Regions from separate parts of the Homo sapiens genome. Here regions 2, 3, 4, 5, 6 and 7 are each linked to region 1. Evidence: promoter capture Hi-C in 16 types of primary human blood cells and fetal thymus (Javierre and others, 2016). All regions are on one chromosome and are shown on one strand. Each heading gives the region's core, a stretch centred on a gene start or on the middle of the fragment in contact. The rest is flanking DNA. Distances are from core to core; before and after follow the strand shown. Region 1 holds the start of NHLRC1 (NHL repeat containing E3 ubiquitin protein ligase 1). Region 2 overlaps NUP153 (nucleoporin 153). Region 3 overlaps NUP153 (nucleoporin 153). Region 4 overlaps NUP153 (nucleoporin 153). Region 5 overlaps NUP153 (nucleoporin 153). Region 6 overlaps NUP153-AS1 (NUP153 antisense RNA 1). Region 7 has its middle 44 kb from the start of NUP153-AS1.

Region 1 (3,032 bases), core at 533-3,032:
GCCTGGCCAACATGGTGAAACCTCATCTCTACTAAAAATACAAAACTTAGCCAGGCATGGTCACGGGTGCCTGTAATCCCAGCTACTCAGGAGGCTGAGGTGGGAGAACCGCCTGAACCCAGGAGGTGGAGGCTGCAGTGAGCCGAGATCGCGCCACTGCACTCCAGCCTGGTGACAGAGCAAGACTCTGTCTCAAAAAGAAAAAAAAAAAAAAGAAAGAAAAAGAAAAATGAGAGATTATAATACCACAATGGATTCTTCACACAGATTATGCTATCCCTTGTTTGAAGATTTTCCAACATATGGCAAATTCTCTTTGTTTTTGGTCTTAACTGAGATTGGAAAAACTGAACTTAGTGTCATTTGAGGGAATTATTATAATGCAGTGTTTCTCAAACTTGGCTGTACATTATAATCACCTGGGGAGCTTTTATAAATCCCAGCTGTCCAGACCACACCATGGGCCAATTAAACTTTTCGGGTGCGACCCAGGTGTTTACCATGTGCAAAGAAGTTTGAAAATGACTAAAATAGGTAACTCTGAAGTCAAACTGCCTGGCTTCAAATTCCAGGCCAGCCACTTCCTAGCCATGTGACCCTGGGCAAGATATTTGATTTCTATGAATTCTATCAGAAAAAAAGACAATAAAAATAACATATTTTTGTAGGATTGCTATGAGGTTTAAACAAGATAATCTATGTAAATTATTTATTAATTTGCTGCAAAAGTAATCACGGTTTTGCCATTAAAAGTGATGGCAAACACTGCGAATCCTTTTCACCAACCTAACACAATGGGGCAGGCATATGTGAATTCCATAGGCTGGGCACAGTGGCTCACACCAGCACTTTGGGAGGCCAAGGGGTGGGGAGGAATGTGAACAATTTTCACAAGTTCAAGACCAGCCTAGGCAACATAGTGAGACCTCCTCTCTACAAAAAAATTAAAAAATTAGCCTAGTGTGATGGTGCATGCCTGTAGTCCCAGCTACTGAAGTGGGAGGATTGCTTGAGCCTGGGAGATGGAGGCTGCAGTGAGCTGTGATCGTGCCCCTGCACTCCAGCCTGGGTGACAGAGTGAGACTTTGTCTTAAAAAACAAAAAAATGAAGTTCTATGGTAATTATTATTAACTAACAGCTTTCTTATTTCATATTAATTACTCTGCAAGACACTTCCAGCATGGTTGCCCCATCTGACACTCATTCACCTCGTTGATTTTTTTTTGTTGTTGTTGTTGTTCTATAACATTCATTCATGCACAAATTCATTTTACAAGTATGTATTCATCTAACATTGACTTAACTATGAGTATGACAGAAGACACAAAAGAAATGTACACATCTGCCTCACCTCCCTTGGAGTTTATCTTCTCTAGTGTGTTCGTGTTTTCCGGTTCAGATCATAAGCATCATGAGCTAAGGGACCATGTTTTATGCCCGGACAGCCGTAGCACCCGGCGCTGCGGATTGGAGACACTGCTAGGCACCCGGGCTGGAAGATTGGGTTCTAGTTCTTGTTTTGCCGCTTACAGGCTGGGTGACAGGGAGCAATCCTGTTGTCCTCAATAGGTGTGTTTCCTCATCTGAAAGTGTACACAATCCATCCATGACTGCTGTGACGATTACAGGTCTACACAACGCGCATGTGGATTTGTCTTGCAAACGTCCACCATCAGGCCCTCAGGAAACAGTGCCGCGCGTGCCCACCAAGGGGCAGCAGATCGCAGTGCAGAGGCCCGCGGCGCTCGACGTCAGGGCGCACGTCCCACCCCGTGACCATGACTGTGACCGTGACCGAGAGCGTCGCTGGGGCACGGCCAGGCGGCGCGGCGGGAGTGCACAGGACGCGCCATGGCGGCCGAAGCCTCGGAGAGCGGGCCAGCGCTGCATGAGCTCATGCGCGAGGCGGAGATCAGCCTGCTCGAGTGCAAGGTGTGCTTTGAGAAGTTTGGCCACCGGCAGCAGCGGCGCCCGCGCAACCTGTCCTGCGGCCACGTGGTCTGCCTGGCCTGCGTGGCCGCCCTGGCGCACCCGCGCACTCTGGCCCTCGAGTGCCCATTCTGCAGGCGAGCTTGCCGGGGCTGCGACACCAGCGACTGCCTGCCGGTGCTGCACCTCATAGAGCTCCTGGGCTCAGCGCTTCGCCAGTCCCCGGCCGCCCATCGCGCCGCCCCCAGCGCCCCCGGAGCCCTCACCTGCCACCACACCTTCGGCGGCTGGGGGACCCTGGTCAACCCCACCGGACTGGCGCTTTGTCCCAAGACGGGGCGTGTCGTGGTGGTGCACGACGGCAGGAGGCGTGTCAAGATTTTTGACTCAGGGGGAGGATGCGCGCATCAGTTTGGAGAGAAGGGGGACGCTGCCCAAGACATTAGGTACCCTGTGGATGTCACCATCACCAACGACTGCCATGTGGTTGTCACTGACGCCGGCGATCGCTCCATCAAAGTGTTTGATTTTTTTGGCCAGATCAAGCTTGTCATTGGAGGCCAATTCTCCTTACCTTGGGGTGTGGAGACCACCCCTCAGAATGGGATTGTGGTAACTGATGCGGAGGCAGGGTCCCTGCACCTCCTGGACGTCGACTTCGCGGAAGGGGTCCTTCGGAGAACTGAAAGGTTGCAAGCTCATCTGTGCAATCCCCGAGGGGTGGCAGTGTCTTGGCTCACCGGGGCCATTGCGGTCCTGGAGCACCCCCTGGCCCTGGGGACTGGGGTTTGCAGCACCAGGGTGAAAGTGTTTAGCTCAAGTATGCAGCTTGTCGGCCAAGTGGATACCTTTGGGCTGAGCCTCTACTTTCCCTCCAAAATAACTGCCTCCGCTGTGACCTTTGATCACCAGGGAAATGTGATTGTTGCAGATACATCTGGTCCAGCTATCCTTTGCTTAGGAAAACCTGAGGAGTTTCCAGTACCGAAGCCCATGGTCACTCATGGTCTTTCGCATCCTGTGGCTCTTACCTTCACCAAGGAGAATTCTCTTCTTGTGCTGGACACAGCATCTCATTCTATAAAAGTCTATAAAGTTGACT
Region 2 (3,032 bases), core at 313-2,812, 500 kb after region 1:
AAAATTATCTCTTGTACTTGGCAGAATAGAGAGGTAATATGGTTGGATTTATATATAAACAACATTCGCAGGTTTCACAGACTTGTAACTTTTTTAAGGTAGTAATGTATTTTAAAGTGTTAATTTTTACTCTGACTTAAGTATGGGATTCATTCACTCTCATTTCTTCTCAACTTTGAATTTTTGGGCTTGCAAGGCTAGCTTTGAAGTGCATTTTCTGATCCTGTTTATGATTGGATTTGCGTTAGGAAGTTACCCCCAGGTCCAGTGCTCTCTCCTGGGGCAGTCCCGCTGAGTTGTCTCATGACACTTTCTATTTACTGATGATACCAGCCTTTCCATTTGAACTGCATATTTAAATATGACTAATCAAATTGTATTATAATCCTATATTTTCTTAAAATTGTTGTTGATTTTTTTCTAATTGTGAAATATAATATTATGTAGAAAGGGGTGTAAAATATAAGTGAACAGTGTAATATTGAAGCAAATGCTGTATAACAACCACCTGGAAGCCCCTCATGTATCTCTTTTTGAAAACACTCCTCTCTTTCTCCACTCTAATGATGACCACCGCCTTGTCTTTTATGGTAATCACTGTTCTTTGGGTTTTATTACTGCATTTATTGGCTAATAGATGCATCCCTAGAAAATGTAGTTTTGCCTGCTTTTATATAAATGGAATATTACTGCATGCAGTCTTTTGATTTGTGATTGTTTTGCTCTAAGGCTTGTAAGGGTCATCCATGTTTTGCATATAGTTTGTTTATTGTCATTGCCATAGAGTAAATCATTGTATGAATATACTGCAGTTTATTTACTGTTGACATATGTTTCAGTTGTTTTTAACTACTAGGAAATGCTACTCTGTACATTCTTGTATATGTACCTTGGTGCACATATGTATGTTTTTCTAGAGTATATACAGTGGCATGGGATTGCTGAATTAAAAGGTTTGTATATCTTATACTAGAAGATAATAAAAACTTTTCCTGATGGATTCTGCCAATTCATATCCTACCACCATTGTATGAGTTCTTATATGTGGGTTCTATTTGATTTCTCATGTGTGTAAATTGTTTTAAAAGGTTTTTTTTTTTTTTTTTTTGGCCATTTTTCAGTTTGGCTTTTGCGTGTAAGTTTGTAGAGGTTCTTTATGTATTCTGGATATTGGTACTTTGTCAGCTAATGTACATACCAAAATTTCTCCTGTTTTCTGATATACATTAACCATTTTGATCAGGATTTTTTCCTCTAATATGAAATTGGAAAGTTTCTATTTCTTTCACACAGGTAACATTTTCCTCTGTTGTCATCGTCTTTTTTTTTTTTTTTTGAGACAGAATCTCACTGTGTCGCCCATGCTGGAGTGCAGTGGCTTGATCTCCGCTCACTGCAACCTCCGCTTCCCGGGTTCAAGTGATTCTTCTGCCTCAGCCTCCCAAGTAGCTGGGACTACAGGCACGTGCCACCACACCTGGCTGATTTTTTATATTTTTAGTAGAGATGGGGTTTCACCGTGTTAGCCAGGGTGGTCTTGATCTCCTGACCTCATGATCCACCCACCTCGGCCTCCCACAGTGCTGGGATTACAGGTGTGAGCCACCACGCCCAGCCTTTATCTGCTTAATATAGAGACACTGTAAGGTTAGATCAGGATTCTGATTATGGAAATGCTGATTATTGCTGAGCCATATGGTATACTATAACTTTCTATCCTATACAAAATTTGTTTCTCTGACATTATTGACTTCCTCTCTTTATTTTTTTTTTATGTAAAGAGCAATCAATTTTATAAACTAAATACAAAGAAAAAGTCAATTTTAGGAGATCTTTCTTCCAGTTAAAGAATTGAGAAAAGGCTACAGAGGCCCTAAAAATTAGAGTCACACTGTTGTTGAAACTTGGGGAAAGACAGCATTTTAGGGTTGAGGTTCTCAGTTCTATAACAAGGTAGACCTGGATAGTAAAGATGTTAGAAAATCCTTTTTTAAATTTTTTGAGACAGGGTCTCACCTTGCCGCACAAACTGGAGTACAGTGGTGGAATCTCGGCTCACTACTGCCTCAACCTGCTGGGCTCAAGCCATCCTCCTGCCTGAGCCTGCCAAGAAACTGGGACTACAGGCAGACACCACCACTACACCCATCTGTTTCATTTTTGGAGGGGGGCGTGGTTTGTAGAGACAGGGTTTTGCCATGTTATCCAGGCTGGTCTCTAACTCCCGAGCTCAAGCAGTCCACCCACCTCAGCCTCCTAAAGTGCTAGGATTACAGGCGTGAGCTACTGTGCCCAGCCAAGATGTTAGAAAACTCTTGACTCTGGGTAGCAGCATAACTGTCCAAAAAAACACAAAACAAAACAAAAGAAAAGCCATGCTACAAAGTCTAGTGAAGGTCATTCCCACAGAAAACACAAAGCATTAATTTTTGTCATACATAGAAATATAGTTTTAGTAATAATCCAAAAGCATTTTTGATAAAAATGAAAAACTTTAAAAAAATATTTTAAAGTTTTTCATTTTTAAAAACTGATGTGTTATTTTGTTACATACATACAATGTGTAATAAATTAGGGCATTTAGGATATCCATCACCTTGAACATTCATCATTTCTTTGTGTTGGGAACATTTCAGAACTTCTAGCTATTTTGAAATGTACAATAAATTATTGTTAACTCTACTGTGCTCTCAAATACTAGAATTTATTCCTTCTATCTAGCTATATGTTTGTATTCGTTAACCACCTTCCCTTCCTACCACCACCCCAACGAAGCCTCTGAACCATCATTTGTTCTCTACCTTTATGAGATCAACTTGTTTTTTAGCTCCTACACATGAGTGAGAACATTGAATATGTGTCTTTGTGCCTGGCTTATTTCACCTAACATAATGTCCTTCAGTGCCATAGATGTTGTAGTAAATGACAAGATGTTATTTTCTTTTAATGACCAAATAGTATTTTATTGTATATTAAACCACATTTTCTGTATCCATCTGTTGATGGACACTTAGATTGATTCCGTATCTTGG
Region 3 (3,032 bases), core at 238-2,737, 470 kb after region 1:
AGACTGAGCTTGCTGACATCACAGCCCAAATTTCCACATTTCATTCCAGCTACTCCAGAATTTGCACATGTGGCCCATAAAGAGGCATGAAGAGACAACTGTGCACGTCGAAGGACTTTTCAGACTTCCTCTTTCCTTCCCCAGAATCTACCCCCTAAACCTTTCCTAATAAACATACTACCTTAAGGCCAATTTGCGGGGAGACAGATTTGAGCTGGACTCCTGTCTTCCTTGTTGGTTATCTAAGTAAAGCTTTCCTTTCTTCAAAAACCTGGTGCCCCCTAAGTTTGGAGGTTTGCTTGAGCCCAGGAGTTTGAGATTAGCCTGAGCAACATGGCAAAACCCCACGTGTACAAAAAAATAACAAAAATTAACCAGGCATGGTGGTTAGCGCCTGTGGTCCCAGCTACCAGGGAGGCTGAAGTGGGAGGATCACCCCAGCTGGGGAGACTCTGTCTTTAAAAAAATAACAAATAAAAAAAACTCCTCTTCACTCATGTTTGTATCACCTCCTCCCCTCTTTGGGCCTCTTCTCTTCATTCTGGCCAACTGCCAATTTTGTGTCACAGGATTCTTCACCCAGTCCTTCCCATCACTGGCTCTGTTCCACCCTGAAGTTATAATGTCCACATTTCTGAGGAAAGAGGTACTAATGTGATGTTGGCCCCACACTTTCTGCCCACCTTGTGGTTTGTTTGTTTATTTATTTGTCAGAGTCTTGCTCTGTCTCCCAGGGTGGAGTGCAGTGGCGCAATCTTGGCTCACTGCAACCTCCACCTCCTGAGTTCAAGCAATTCTCCTGCCTCAGCCTCCTGAGTAGCTGGGATTACAAGCGTACGCCACCATGCCCAGCTAAATTTTGTATTGTTAGTAGAGATGGGGTTTCACCATGTTGGCCAGGCTGGTCTCAAACTCCTGACCTCAAGAGATCCACCCACCTTGGCCTCCCAAAGGGCTGGGATTGCAGGGTTGAACCACTGCGCCCAGCCCTACCTTGTGTTTTATATCTGTATAGAATAGGTTTGGATACACAATTATATAGTTGTTTTGAATGCAGTGCTGCTTGTTTGCATCAGAAGTCAGATATGTTGAGACCACAAATTGTTTCTTTCTTCAGTTATAATTAGTGGGAATTTTTGGTAAAAAATTAAAAGATTGGCTGGTCACGGTGGCTCACACCTGTAATCCCAGTACTTTGGGAAGGCTGAGGCCGGCAGATCACCTGAGGTCAGGAGCTCGAGACCAGCCTGGCCAACATGGTGAAACCCCGTCTCTACTAAAAACACAAAAATTAGCCGGGTGTGATGGCGGGCACATGTAATCCCAGCTACTCGGGAAGCTGAGGCAGAAGAATCGCTTGAACCTGGGAGGGGGAGGTTGCAGTGAGCTGAGATCGTACCACTGCACTCCTGCCTGGGTGACAGATTGAGACTTTGTCTTAAAAAAAAAAAAAGTAATAATAAGATTAAAGTTATTTTTGTGGGGGCGGCATTTTCATGGGCCTTTGGAAGAGTGACATGGAAGAGATTTAGTTTTAATGAAATGTAAACACATTATGCTAACTGATTTCAGATAGTGTTGCTATTTAGCAGGAATGGATGTATTCTGATCCATTAAATTCAGGTTAATAGAACTCTATATGTAAAATTACCCATTTGGAATGATCTTTTACCTTTCACCTTATCCTGGATTCTAAAATGTGCAAGGATTGTAGTCATTAAATATATTGGCCTTTTGCTTTTACTGTCCTACCAATCAATCCATGAGTTTTTTTGTGTGTGTTGTTAAAAAGCTCATTGATACAAAACATGTAGCAGTATACAAAACATGTAGCAGTATATAAGAAGACTTGAGTTTGGAGAGACTTAATTGCTTGCTCTTGTCTTGTATAATCCTGCCACTTACTAGCTGGGTGACCTTGGTCAAATTAACCTCTTGTGTACCTCCTCAGTTTTTTTATCTGTAAAATGGAAATAAGAATAAATATTGTGTTCATGTCTGTAAGATTTCTGCCACTTAATAGCTGTATGGTATTATGCCATATATCTCCCTGCCTTACTTTCTTCATATGTAACAATAGTATCTACCTCATATGAGATAACCCATGTAAGGATATTACAAAGGTATTAGATAGTGAATTGTGAAATGTGTGTTCTACTTGAGATGTCTCTAAGCATCAAGTTAGCAGAATTCTTGGCTTTTTTTTCCTCTTAGATTAGTGGGACCCACTTATGATCTACTAAGTCAAAATTTGGGGGAGTAGAAATCAAATGATAGAATTGGTTCAAGGTCAGCTGGGCGCGGTGGTTCATGCCTGTAATCGCAGCACTTTCGGAGGCCGAGGTGGGCGGATCACGAGGTCAGGAATTCGAGACCAGCCTGGCCAACATGGTGAAACCCTGTCTGTACTAAAAATACAAAAATTAGCTGGGCGTAGTGGCAGGTGCCTGTAGTCCCAGATACTTGGGAGGCTGAGGCAGGAGAATCGGTTGAAACCAGAAGGCAGAGGTTGCAGTGAGCCAAGATCGCACCACTGCAGTCCGGCCCGGGCAACAAGATCGAAACTCCGTCTCAAAAAAAAAAAAAATTGGTTCAAGGTCAGTAATATAAGGAACCAGTGTGGACAAGTGTGTGCCTTAAGGAGTTGGCATGAGAGAGTAGATTATATAGTTGATGTTTTTAGGGTTCTACGCTGGAGGTTGGACAGAGAAGAGAAGCTTCCCTACAAAAATAGCCAGATGCATCTTTTGTTTGTTCCTCCTCCCTCAGTTGATTATGACAAATTTCAAACATGAAATGTTGAAAGAACTGTGCAGCGTATACACACAGTAGCAGTTAGATTCCAACATTTTGTGTTACATTTGCTTTATCAAAAAAGAAAAATTTACCTGTCCATCTTTTTTTATTTTTTGGTGCATTTTAAAGATAGTTGAAGACATTAGTACACTTCACCCCCAAATACGTCAGCATACATAGCGTGAAGTAGAGTTAAATATTTGTTGTTCTTTTTATAACATAGCAAAATTGACATA
Region 4 (3,032 bases), core at 292-2,791, 450 kb after region 1:
GTGGCGCACCCTCCACCTCCTGGGTTCAAGCAATTCTCTGCGTCAGCCTCCTGAGTAGCTGGGATTACAGGTGCCTGCCACCACACCTGGCTGATTTTTGTATTTTTAGTAGAGACGGAGTTTCTCACCATCTTAGCCAGGCTGGTCTCGAACTCTTGACCTTGTGATTCACCCGCGTTGGCCTCCCAAAGTGCTGGGATTACAGGCGTGAGCCACCGCGCCCAGCCAGAAGTTTTACTTTTGATGACATCTTTTGTGTGTGTGTGTGCGTGTGTGTGTATTCTTAATGGTTTCATGCTTTTGGTGTCGTATCTGAGATATTTTTACTATTATAATCCCATGTCACAAAGATTTTGTCTTATGTTTTCTTCTACAAGTTTTATAGTTTTAGGTTTTAATTTATGCCTATGATTCATTTTGAGTAGATTTTTGTGTGTGGTATGAGGTATTGGTCAAGGTTCATTTTATTTTCTAAATTAAAAAGTTTTTTTAAAAAATGAAAGGTAGGAGTCTTACTACGTTGCTCAGGCTGATCCTGAACTGCTGGGCTCAAGCAATCCTCCTGCCTCAGCCTCCCAAAGTTCTGAGATTACAGGTGTGCCTGGCCAAGGTTTTTTGTTTTTTGTTTTTTGTTTTTTTAACATATGGGTGTGCAATTGTTCTAGTGTTATTTGTTAAAAAGACTGTTCTTTGTTCATTGAATAGCTTTTGCACCGTCTTTGTTCTGTGTTTTTGTTTGAGACAGGGCCTTGCTCTGTCACACAGGTTGGAGTGCAGTGGCACGATCATGGCTCACTGCAACCAGAACCTCCTGGGCTCAAGTGATCCTCCCACTTTAGCCTCCTGAGTAGCTGGGACCACAGGCGTGTGCCACCATTCCCAGCTAAATTTTTTTTTTGGTAGTGACAGGGTCTCACTAAGTTGCCTAGGCTGGTGTTGTACTCCTGGGCTCAAGCGATCCTCCTGTGTTGGCTTCCCAAAGTGTTCGGATTACAAGCATGAACCACCAGGCCTGGCCTGCACCTTTGTTGAAATCCAGTTCACATGGCTTTATTTCTGGACTTTTGACCATCCCTCCCCCGACCCACCCATTGATCTGTGTGTCTTTCCTTTTGCCAACTGCACTGTCTTGATTGCCATAGGCTTCCCGGTAGGTCTTAAAATTAGGTGATGTGAGTAGTCCAATTTTGTTCTTTTTCAAGCTTGTTTTGGCTTTTTTAGGTCCTTTGCTTTTCTATAAAAATCTAAAATTGGCTTGTTTCTACAGTCTGCTAGGATTTTGATTGGAATTGCTTTTTTTATTTTTTAGATGGGATCTTGCTCTGTTGCCCAAGCTGAAGTGCTGTGGCATGATCTTGGTTCACTGCAACCTCCACCTCCCAGGTTCACACAATTTTCCTGCCTCAGCCTCCCAAGTAGCTGGGACTACAGGCACACACCACCATGCCCCACTAATTTTTGTATTTTTAGTAGAGACAGGGTTTTACCATGTTGGCCAGGCTGGTCTCGAACTCCTGACCTCAGGTGATCCGCCCACCTTGGCCTCCCAAAAGTGCTGGTATTATAGGTATGAGCCAGCATGCCCAGCCATGATTGAGATTGCATTTGAGTCTAAAGACCAATTTGGGGAGAATAGGCATCTTAACAAAATTGAGTCTTCCAAACCATGAACATGGTATATCTTCCCATTTAGGTGGTTTATAAATTTTTTTCATCAGTGTTTTGTAGTGTTCAGCATACAGATCTCGAACATATTTTGTTAGACTTATTTGTTAGACTTTTGTTATTTGGTATTAGTCAAGAATATGTAGCCTGAATAACTTTTATCTTTTCAGTGAATTGAGTTCATAATTTAAAATACGTTCCAGCAAAGAAGCTTCAGGCTCAGATAGCTTCCCTGGTGAATCCTACCAAACATTTAAGAAAGAAATAATACCAATTCTACACAAACTCTTATGTATAGTAGGAGAGTAGGGAACACTTCCCAGTACCTTTTATGAGGCCAACATTATTACCCCGAGACCAAAATCAGACAAAGACATTAGAAGACAGCAACAGACTATTATTTCTCATGAATTATAGACACAAACCTCAACAAAAATATTTGTAAATGGAATCCAACAAATTTAAAAAGGAAACTGCATCATGATCAAGTGGGGTTTATCCTGGGAAGGCAAGGTTGACTCAACATATGAAAATTAATGGGATTAGACCAGGTGTGGTGGCTCATGCCTGTAATCCCAGCACTTTGGAAGGCCTTAGATCACCTGAGGTCAGGAGTTCGAGACCAGCCTGGCCAACATGGTGAAACCCTATCTCTACTAAAAATACAAAAATTAGCCGGTTGCAGTTGGACGTGCCTGTAATCCCAGCTACTCGGGAGGCTGAGGCAGGAGAATCATTTGAACCTGGGAGGCGGAGGTTGCAGTGAGCCGAGATTGTGCCACCGCACTCCAGCCTGGGCAACAGACTGAGACTCTGTCTAAAAAAAAATAAAAAATAAAAAATTAATGGGATTTACCATGTAAACAATCTAAAGAGTACTATATGAACATCTCTATAGATACATAAAATATTTTTTAAAAATCCAACATTTAGTCATGATAAAAATTTTTGAACAAACCTAGGTATAGTTGAGATCCTTCTACCTGATAAAGTGCATTTACAAAAAAATCATCTGGCAACATACTTAATGGTATGAGGAAGCAAGCAAGGATGTCTGCTATCACTGCTACTGTTTAACATCATACTGCAGGTGCTAGCCAGTGCAGTAGGCACAGAAATCAATGCATGCAGATTGGAAAGGGTATTATTCCTGTAATATTTTTACTGTACACAGATAACATGCTTATCTACGTAGAAAAATCCAAAGAAAATACAAAAAAAGCCACCACAACTAATAAGCGAGTTTAACAGGGTCACAGGATACAAGGTCAATATACAAAAGTCTGTTGTATTTATATACATATATTGGCAGCAGTGACTATGAAATGCCTATATTTGAAGATTTTTGTCTTGTTTTTAGATGTTGT
Region 5 (3,032 bases), core at 343-2,842, 430 kb after region 1:
ATGGCTAAAGTTTGGGAAACACTAGGAAAATAATTTTATGAACTGTATGTATTTAGCACAGTCTAAAATGGTCTGTAAGATTTGTTTACCTGATTCACTTTAGAATATTTTCATTATAATCTTAAATATTGTCTGACTAGTGCTCCACATGTATATTTTTTCTAGATAACTGAAGATTAAGCCTTTCAAGAATGCACAATTTTATTCATCTGTTTTGGAGGGGCTTCTCTAAAATGTATCTTAATTTCCTGAAATGTATCTGATTTCCAATATTAGAATCACTTCAGAGGGCTTGATAAAACAGGTGGGACCTACCTCTGGAGATTATCCTACTAAGGGCTGGAGAAGGACCTGGGATGATGCTGATAATACTGCTAAAAAGGGATCACACTTTGAGGACCACTCAATTATATTAAGCTTAATTTAACTTTTTCTTAATGACTTAGGGTCATTTAACCTACAAAGGTATATTAGGGTATTGAAACACAAGGATGTTTGTTCCTTCATACTGGTTCCAGGTCCATTTTATTATTTTCCTTCCTTCTTCCCATCCTCCCTCCTTTCTTTTTGTCTTTTTGTTTTTAGAAACAGGGTCTCTGTCACCCAGGCAGGAGCGCAGTGGTACAATCATAGCTGACTGCAACCTTGAATTCCTAGGCTCAAGTGATTCTCCTGTCTCAGCCTCCCAAGTAGCTAAGACTACAGGCCTGTGCCACAGTTCTAGCTAATATAGCCTGCATTCCTTTTTACTCCTCATGCTGTCATTCACTGTGCCACTAGTAATGTCTCTGTCTCACTGTTCCTCTATTAAGCTCTTCTGGGCTGAGACTAGTTAAGTTGGTTAAATTTTAGTATAGAAAATCGGTCTGTAATCTAAGTTCATGTATTTTAGTGAGTGAGCTTTATTATATCCACTTTGACCAGTTATGTTTTCCAGTTGTTTTTGAAGATACCTAATGTTGCCACATGAGGGATCTATGAGTGAGGGTGGAGCCAATTTAAAGTTGTTCTATACTTGCCTTCCAGATGGATAGGGATCACAGGAATCTCTGATACGTTTAGTAGCTAAACACCTTACTTGAAGTCCCCCAAAAAATTTTTAAATCTACATTAAATTCTAGAATTGCTATAGCTGGATGTGGTAGTCGGCCTGTAGTCCTGGCTACTTGGAAGGCTGAGATGAGAGCCCAGGAGTTTGAGGCTGCAGTGGGCCATGATCACGTGCCATTGCACTCTACCTGGTATGACACAGGTCTCTGGAAAAAAAAAAATTCTTGCTATAGTGCTTTAGCTAGCCTGTCACCTATATCAAGTATGTCTTTGTTTTTAAGTCTTTTTTTGTTTTTCTGAGCTGGAGTCTCGCTGTGTCACCCAGGCTGGAGTGCAATGGCCCGTCTGCCTCCCACGTTCAAGCGATTCTCCTGCCTCAGCCTCTCTAGTAACTGGGATTACAGGCATGCACCATCATGCCTGGCTAATTTTTGTATTTTTAGTAGATACGGGGTTTTGCCATGTTGGCCAGGCTGGTCTCCAGCTCCTGGCCTCAAGTGATCCACCAGACTCGGCCTCCCAAAGTGCTGAGATTACAGGCATGAGCCACCACGCCCAGCCTTAAGTCTGTCTTAAACTGTATTATAGCTTTTAAACACTTTCAAGTCTTGAAGTATGGAAATGGGATAAGTAACTAGTATTAGGTGTGTTTTTACAAATATTAAATATTGGATATAGGTATATAGGCTTTCTTTCCATAGTAACTAATACTGTGTAATATTAGCAAAGAAAAAGGGAACAGTGAATTGGTGTTGTTCAGTAGTTAGTGTTCTAGAACTTGGCTTCATGTGTTTGATAGAGAGCTTACTTGTAGATCTATTGAAAATTTGCACAATACATGGAAGAATAATTACATGCTTCCCAGTTGCTACCTATACCTTTCCTTTTTTTTTCTTGAGACGGAGTCTCGCTTTTGCTCTGTTGCCCAGGCTGGAGTGCAATGGCGTGATCTTAGCTCACTGCAACCTCCATCTGCCAGTTCCAAGCAATTTTCCTGCCTCAGCCTCCTGAGTAGCTGGGATTACAGATGCACACCACCACACCCGGCTAATTTTTTTTTGTATTTTTAGGAGAGGCGGGGTTTCATCATATTGGTCAGGCTGGTCTTGAACTCCTGATCTCATGATCCACCCACCTCGGCCTCCCAAAGTGCTGGGATTACAGGCGTGAGCCACCACGCCCGGCTACCTTTTCACATAGTAAGGAAATTACTATTCAAGTGCCTGTATCAGAAATGTCTTCCATTTTTTTTGTTGGCAGGATATTTTAAGGCCTCTGTCTTGAGTTTCCCTTCTAGGTAGATTTATATATTCTGCCTTGATTTTATTGTTTTCTGTACCTACTGAGTCATTTTTTTCCTTTCTTTGACTCTTTCTTTGAAATCCTACTAAATCTGCTTCGTGAAATAAATTGTTGCCTAAAATCGGTTACCTTACCCCAGTTTATTGCCAGCTTTTTTCCTTGTTAGTAAAAAAGTTTTCAGTATGTTTCTGTTATACCTTGTAAATTGATACATGCCTTCACATTATTTCATTTGATTTTCATTATAATTACTATAAATAATAGGAGGCAGTGTTATTTTACCTAGAGTAAATCAAAGTACAGGGAGGTCCTCCAATTTTACCCTAGGTCCTGGCAATCCCAAAGCCCATACTTTTTTTTTTGAGACGGAGTCTCGCTCTGTCGCCCAGGAGATCTTGGCTCACTGCAAGCTTTCTCAAGCAATTATTTTACTGCACATTCGGCTCACTGCAAGCTACGCCACCCGGGTTCACGCCATTCTCCTGCCTCAGCCTCCCGAGTAGCTGGGACTACATGCGCCCGCCACCACGCCTGGCTAATTTTTTGTATTTTTAGTAGAGACGCGGTTTCACTGTGTTAGCCAGGATGGTCTCAATCTCCTGACCTCGTGATCCACTTACCTCAGCCTCCCAAAGTGCTGAGATTACAGGCATGAGCCCAAAGCCCATACTTTTACTCTG
Region 6 (3,032 bases), core at 168-2,667, 410 kb after region 1:
AATGCTTTTAAAAAATAAAGAAGCTTAGTATTAGCAAACTAAGGTTTGCAAAGGTTATAGTTTTACAGACTGCAACCTTAATAAGTCCAGTTTCGTAATGTAACTGATGAATTATGTTAATAAATAAAACTAAACCAATTGATTTCTTTTTTTTCTTTTTTCTTTTTTTTTGAGATGGAGTCTCGCTCTGTCGCCCAGGCTGGAGTGCAGTGGCATGATCTCCGCTCACTGAAAGCTCCGCCTCCCAGGTTCATGCCATTCTCCTGCCTCAGCCTCCCGAGTAGCTGGGATTACAGGCGCCCACCACCGCGCCCGGCTAATTTTTTTTTTTTGTATTTTTAGTAGAGACGGTGGTTTCACCATGTTAGCCAGGATGGTCTTGATCTCCTGACCTCGTGATCCGCCTGCCTTGGCCTCCCAAAGTGCTGAGATTACAGGCATGAGCCACCGTGCCCGCCCCTGATTTCTTGTATGAGATAGATTCAACAGCATGTGTTTAGAATTTACGTGTAGGTTTTTTTTTTTTTTTTTGAGACAGAGTCTGGCTCAGTTGCCCAGGCTGCAGTACCGTAGCATGATCTCGGCTCACTGCAACCTCTGCCTCCCAAGTTCAAGCGATTCTTCTGTCTCAGCCTCCCAAGTAGCTGGGATTACAGGCATGTGCCACCACACTCGGCTAATTTTTTAATTTTTTTAGTAGAGACGGGGTTTTGCCACGTTGGCCAGGCTGGTCTCAAACTCCTGACCTCGGGTGATCCGCACATCTTGGCCTCCCAAACTGCTGGATTACTGGTGTGAGCCACTGTGCCTGGCTTGAGTGTAGCATTTTTAAGGTGAATTATCAGTGTTAAGTGCTAATGATTAATAGATTATAAAATAGTAAACTTTAGTATAACTCAATAAAATGGTAAAGTGTAGCATAATATGTAGACAGAGATTGTTTTACAGTTTTGTATACTGACATACTAAATGCCAAGACTAGAAACCAACACATAAATATCTCAATAAATATTTGTGTTTTAATGAATTAATCTCAGTTAATTCATTAACTGTCTTAAATGTTAGGATGGGATTGCCTTCCTAAATTTGGTTATTATTTCATCCAATAAAACTGAGTTTCCATTCAAGATTGAATTTAAAATATGCCTTAAACTATAATGTAATGTACATAAACACATATATACCAAAGTCTAGTATACATTGATACATGTAGTCAGGAAGAGGAAATATATGGCATGTTGGAATCAAGTGATATATGTAGTTAATCAAAATTTGCTCATATTAGTTAATTTAGTCTTAAATATTACTTTATTCCCAATAGAGAGAGAACACAGTAAGTTAATGAGAATACAATGATTTACATCCTTAAATATCTTTCCGTTGTGTGGCCCTTCTTTCCCTAAAATACAAGCAAACAGGCAATAAATAAATAAATAAATAATAAATAAACCCAATAGCTTCATTTTCTTTATTTTTTTCTTTAGAGATGGGGTCTCACTCTGTTACCTAGGCTGGACTGCAGTGGTGAGATCATAGCTCGCTGCAGCCTTAGACTCCTGGGCTCAAGTGATCCTCCTGCCTCAGCCTCCCTAGTAGCTGGGACTACAGGTGCACACCACTAAGCTCAACTAATTTTTTCATTTCTTTGTAGAGAAGGGGTCTCGTTATGTTGCCCAGGCTGGTTTCAATCTCCTGGCCTCAAGTGATCCTCCTGCCTTGGCTTCCCAAAGTGCTGAGATTATGGGTGTGAGCCACATGCCTGACCAGGAATACACTTTAAAATAATAAAGTATGGTAGCAACAGGAAATGGCAAGGAGTGCCTGTTAAAAAAAAAAAAAAGGTATAGTAAATACATAAACCAGAAACAGCCACTTATCATTATGAAGTATTCTGTACTGTACATAATTGTACATACTCCACTTTTACACAAATGGCAACACAGTAGGTTTGTTTATACCAGCATCACCACAAACACGTGAGTAATGTGTTGCAATAAGACCTTAGGACAAAGACAGTATCACCAGGCAATACGAATTTTTCAGCTCTTTATGGGACCACCATTGTATATTGGGCCCATTGTTGATTGAAACATTGTTATGCTGTGCATGAGTGTGATAATTTGTTTTAATAGACATCACAGCAGATACCTCATTTTGTTTTGGTAAGGTGGAATAACTACATAAAATTTCGTAACTTCTTGTACTTGTCATCTTTAAACATTCTTTTGGCCAGAATTGTATTAGTACCTTCTGAAGAATGTATGATGGCTCTTTTTCAATCTAGGTTGGGTTTAGACTAAATTGTATTTCACTTTTAATTAGTGGATACTCCTTATCTATTAGAGATGGGTCAGCAGCCTATTTGCTAATTTATAATTGGCAGCTGGTTACATATATATATATACATATATATATATATTTGTTGTTTTAATTTTTTAATTTTTTTGATATGGAGTCTCACTCTGTGGCCCAGGCTGGAGTGCAGTGGCATGATCTCAGTTCACTGCAACCTCCACCTCCATGGTTCAAGCGATTCTCCTGCCTCAGCTTCCCGAGTGGCTGGGACTACAGGTGAGCACCACCACGCCCAGCTAATTTTTTTTTTTTTTTTTTTAAGTGGAGACAGGTTTCACCATGTTGGCCAGGCTGGTCTCGAACTCCTGACCTCCAGTGATCCACCCGCCTTGGCCTCCCAGAGTGCTGGGATTACAGGTGTGAGCCACTGTGCTCGGCCACTTTCTACTATATTATATGGGGAACAAAATAAAGAAGTTTCTTGGCAGAGGAGGACTATTGTAGCAACAAGCTTTTCATGAATTGCAGTGTCTCCCAATATGCCATTTATTTGGCTGAAAAAACTAGGTCCAGGTTGAATGCAGATTTCCTCCTGTCTCTTTATTCCTTCTCTGCTCTCAAGCCTGGCACGGCTTCCAATGACTCAATCACATGAATGTGAGATTAATGCATTATAGTTCCCTCAAATACTATTTTACTTCCAAGAAATAAAATAATTGTGGAAATGGGTAAAAAGT
Region 7 (3,032 bases), core at 277-2,776, 370 kb after region 1:
TTCTCCTTCCTTTCTTGTCTCAGAGGAACTACCCTTAGGTCACAGAGCCATACTCTCTACACTCTGGCTTATAACAAAATACTGACTTCCAAGCTTTTTTTTTTTTTTTTTCTTTTCTTTTCTTTTTGTCGTAATAGAGATAAGGCCTCGCTATGTTCCTCAGGCTAGTCTTGAACTCCTGGGCTCAAGCAGTATTCCTGCCACAACCTCATAAAGTGCTGGGATCACAGGTGTCACGATGCCCAGCCCTGATTTTTTTTTTTTTTTTCTAAGAGATGGAGTCTCAAGCCAGGCACAGTGACTTACGCCTGTAATCCCAGCACTTTGGAGGCGGAGGTGGGTGGATCACTTGAGGTCAGGAGTTTGAGACCAGCCTGGCCAACATAATGAAACCCTATCTCTACTAAAAACACAAAAATTAGCCAGGTGGGGTGGCCCACGCCTGTAATCCCAGCTACTCGGGAGGCTGAGGTGAGAAAATCACTTGAACCCGGGAGGCAGAGGTTGCTGTGAGCCAAGATGGTACCACTGCACTCCAGCCTGGGCAGCAGAGTAAGATTCTGTCTCAAAAAAATATATAAAAAATATTTCCACTGCATTGCTATTTATTAAATGTAAGGGATTTAATATGCATTGCTCACATAATCATTCCAACAGCCCTGTGAGGTAGACACTGTCATTAACCCCATTTTACAGATGCGGAAATTGTGTCTCAAAGGGGTTAAGGATCTGTCAGGATTACAGAGTATCACTTAATATGAGCTTACAAAAAAACAACAACAAGGCCGGGCACCGTGGTTCACGCCTGTAATCCCAGCACTTTGGGAGCACGAGGTCAGGAGATCGAGACCATCCTGGCTAACACGGTGAAACCCCATCTCTACTAAAAAATACAAAAAATTAGCCAGGCATGGTGGTGGGCGCCTGTAGTCCCAGCTACTTGGGAGGCTGAGGCGAGAGAATGGCATGAACCCGGAAGGCAGAGCTTGCAGTGAGCCGAGATCGTGCCACTGCACTCCAGCCTGGGTGACAGAGCAAGACTCCATCTCAAAAAACAACAACAACAGAAGATCACAAAGGGCCAGGCACGGTGGCTCACACCTGTAATCCCAGCACTTTGGGAAGCCGAGATCAGGAGTTCATAACCAGCCTGGCCAACATGGTGAAACCCCATCTCTACGAAAAATACAAAAATTAGCTGGGTGTGGTGGCACACGCCTGTAATCCCAGCTACTCAGGAGGCTGAGGCAGGAGAATCGCTTAAACCCAGGAGGTGGAGGTTGCAGTAAGCCTAGATCGTGCCACTGCACTCCAGCCTGGGCAACAGAGTGAGACTGTCAAAAAAAAAAAAAAAAAAAAAAAAAAAGATCACAAAGACCAGAAAGGGAAGGAGCTAGGCTTCAAATCCAGGAAAACTGTCTGCATAAGAATCTGTCAGTCTCAGCCGGGCGCGGTGGCTCATGCCTGTAATCCCAGCACTTTGGGAGGCCGAGGTGGGTGGATCATTGAGGTCAGGAGTTCAAGACAAGCCTGGCTAACATTTTGAAACCCCATCTCTACTAAAGATAGAAAACTTAGGCGGGGCGTGTAGCTCACACCTGTAATCCCAGCACTTTGGGAGGCCAAGGCGGGCGGATCATGAAGTTAGGAGATTGAGACCATCCTGGCCAACGTGGTGAAACCCCATCTCTACTAAAAATACAAAAAAATTAGCTGGGCTTGGTGGCACAAGCCTGTAGTCCCAGCTACTCGGGAGGCTAAGGCAGGAGAAGCACTTGAACCCGGGAGTTGAAGGTTGCAGTGAGCTGACATTGCGTCACTGCACTCCAGCCTGGCAACAGAGTGAGACTCTGCCTCAAAATAAATAAATAAATAAATAAGCCGGGCGCGGTGGCTCACGCCTGTAATCCCAGCACTTTGGAAGGCCGAGGCGGGGGATCACGAGGTCAGGAGATCGAGACCATCCTGGCTAACACGGTGAAATCCCGTCTCCAGTAAAAATACAAAAAATTAGCTGGGCGTGGTTGTGGGCACCTGTAGTCCCAGGTACTTGGGAGGCTGAAGCAGGAGAATGGCGTGAACCCGGGAGGCAGAGCTTGTAGTGAGCTGAGATTGCGCCACTGCCCTCCAGCCTGGGCGACAGAGCGAGACTCCGTCTCAAAAAAAAAAAAATACAAAAATACAAAAATTAGCCAGGCGTGGTGATGGGCGCCTGTAGTCCCAGCTTCTCGGGAGGCAGAAGCAGAAGAATCGCTTGAACCCAGGAGGCGGAGATTGCAGTGAGCCAGGATCACGCCACTGCACTCCAGCCTGGGTGACAGAGCGAGACTCTGTCTCAAAAAAAAAAAAAAAAGTCAGTCTCAAAATCTTGTTCAGAAGAACTGCATAGAACTGTACAGTGGCTGCCACAGTTATACTTGACTTAGTTTTGAATTTTCAGCAGAAAAGGAAAAACTGCAGGAGTGGCATTCCTCCTTTCTGGGCAGCTCTGATACTTTGCTGTTTGTTTCCCCCTTATCTGGTGATCTCCAGCCTTTAAGGTGATAAAATGTAGCTCTTGACTAAAGATTGGGGCATCCCTGACACAGATTCAGTATATAGACAGGAAAGATCATTCTTTTTTTTTGAGACACAGCTTCACTCTGTTGCCCAGGCTGGAGTGCAGTGGCACGATCTTGGCTCACTACAACCTCCACCTCTTGTGTTCAAGCGATTCTCATGCCGCAGCCTCCCAAGTAGCTGGGATTACAGACGTGTGTCACCATGCCAGGCTAATTTTTTGTATTTTTAGTAGACACAGGGTTTCACCATTTGGGCCAGGTTAGTCTTCAACTCCTGGGCTCAAGTGATCCACCCGCCTCGGCCTCCCAAAGCGCTGGGATTACAGGCGTGAGCCACTGCGCCCAGCCAGGTGAGATCATTCTTTAAAACACACACAAACTTGAGAAAATAAGCTTATTCTAAAATGTAGTAAAGGCCGGGTGCGGTGGCTCATGCCTGTAATCCCAGCACTTTGGGAGACCAAGGCGGGC

The links. Contacts are between HindIII fragments. The CHiCAGO score rates a contact against its expected background, and 5 or more counts as called.
Region 2: a fragment that was not itself captured here is called in contact with the fragment with the promoter of NHLRC1 in region 1 in 1 of 17 cell types (neutrophils); the score reaches 6.9 in neutrophils.
Region 3: a fragment that was not itself captured here is called in contact with the fragment with the promoter of NHLRC1 in region 1 in 4 of 17 cell types (monocytes, neutrophils, megakaryocytes and 1 more); the score reaches 7.9 in monocytes.
Region 4: a fragment that was not itself captured here is called in contact with the fragment with the promoter of NHLRC1 in region 1 in 5 of 17 cell types (naive B cells, neutrophils, monocytes and 2 more); the score reaches 7.2 in naive B cells.
Region 5: a fragment that was not itself captured here is called in contact with the fragment with the promoter of NHLRC1 in region 1 in 1 of 17 cell types (neutrophils); the score reaches 9.6 in neutrophils.
Region 6: a contact is called between a fragment that was not itself captured here and the fragment with the promoter of NHLRC1 in region 1, in 1 of 17 cell types (neutrophils). The highest score is 5.9, in neutrophils.
Region 7: a contact is called between a fragment that was not itself captured here and the fragment with the promoter of NHLRC1 in region 1, in 1 of 17 cell types (neutrophils). The highest score is 5.4, in neutrophils.

Annotation. Positions count from the first base shown.
Region 1 is chr6:18,121,427-18,124,458 of GRCh38, reverse strand. It overlaps NHLRC1 (NHL repeat containing E3 ubiquitin protein ligase 1), which reads left to right and starts at 1,782. Exons shown (of 1, transcript NM_198586.3): 1 at 1,782-3,032. The coding sequence starts at 1,853. The HindIII fragment of the contact is 6,107 bases long and covers 1-2,478 here.
Region 2 is chr6:17,621,434-17,624,465 of GRCh38, reverse strand. All of the region lies in intron 20 of NUP153 (nucleoporin 153), which reads left to right. Among named protein-coding and RNA genes, the nearest start is that of FAM8A1, 23 kb to the right of the region's middle. The HindIII fragment of the contact is 4,037 bases long and covers 1-3,032 here.
Region 3 is chr6:17,653,880-17,656,911 of GRCh38, reverse strand. The region is part of intron 11 of NUP153 (nucleoporin 153); the gene reads left to right. Among named protein-coding and RNA genes, the nearest start is that of NUP153, 52 kb to the left of the region's middle. The HindIII fragment of the contact is 2,465 bases long and covers 255-2,719 here.
Region 4 is chr6:17,670,282-17,673,313 of GRCh38, reverse strand. All of the region lies in intron 5 of NUP153 (nucleoporin 153), which reads left to right. Among named protein-coding and RNA genes, the nearest start is that of NUP153, 35 kb to the left of the region's middle. The HindIII fragment of the contact is 674 bases long and covers 1,205-1,878 here.
Region 5 is chr6:17,690,062-17,693,093 of GRCh38, reverse strand. The region is part of intron 1 of NUP153 (nucleoporin 153); the gene reads left to right. Among named protein-coding and RNA genes, the nearest start is that of NUP153, 15 kb to the left of the region's middle. The HindIII fragment of the contact is 2,345 bases long and covers 420-2,764 here.
Region 6 is chr6:17,709,578-17,712,609 of GRCh38, reverse strand. NUP153-AS1 (NUP153 antisense RNA 1) reads right to left here. Exons shown (of 3, transcript NR_134618.1): 3 at 1,583-1,821. Among named protein-coding and RNA genes, the nearest start is that of NUP153-AS1, 4.1 kb to the right of the region's middle. The HindIII fragment of the contact is 2,783 bases long and covers 26-2,808 here.
Region 7 is chr6:17,749,106-17,752,137 of GRCh38, reverse strand. No RefSeq gene overlaps it. Among named protein-coding and RNA genes, the nearest start is that of NUP153-AS1, 44 kb to the right of the region's middle. The HindIII fragment of the contact is 2,861 bases long and covers 96-2,956 here.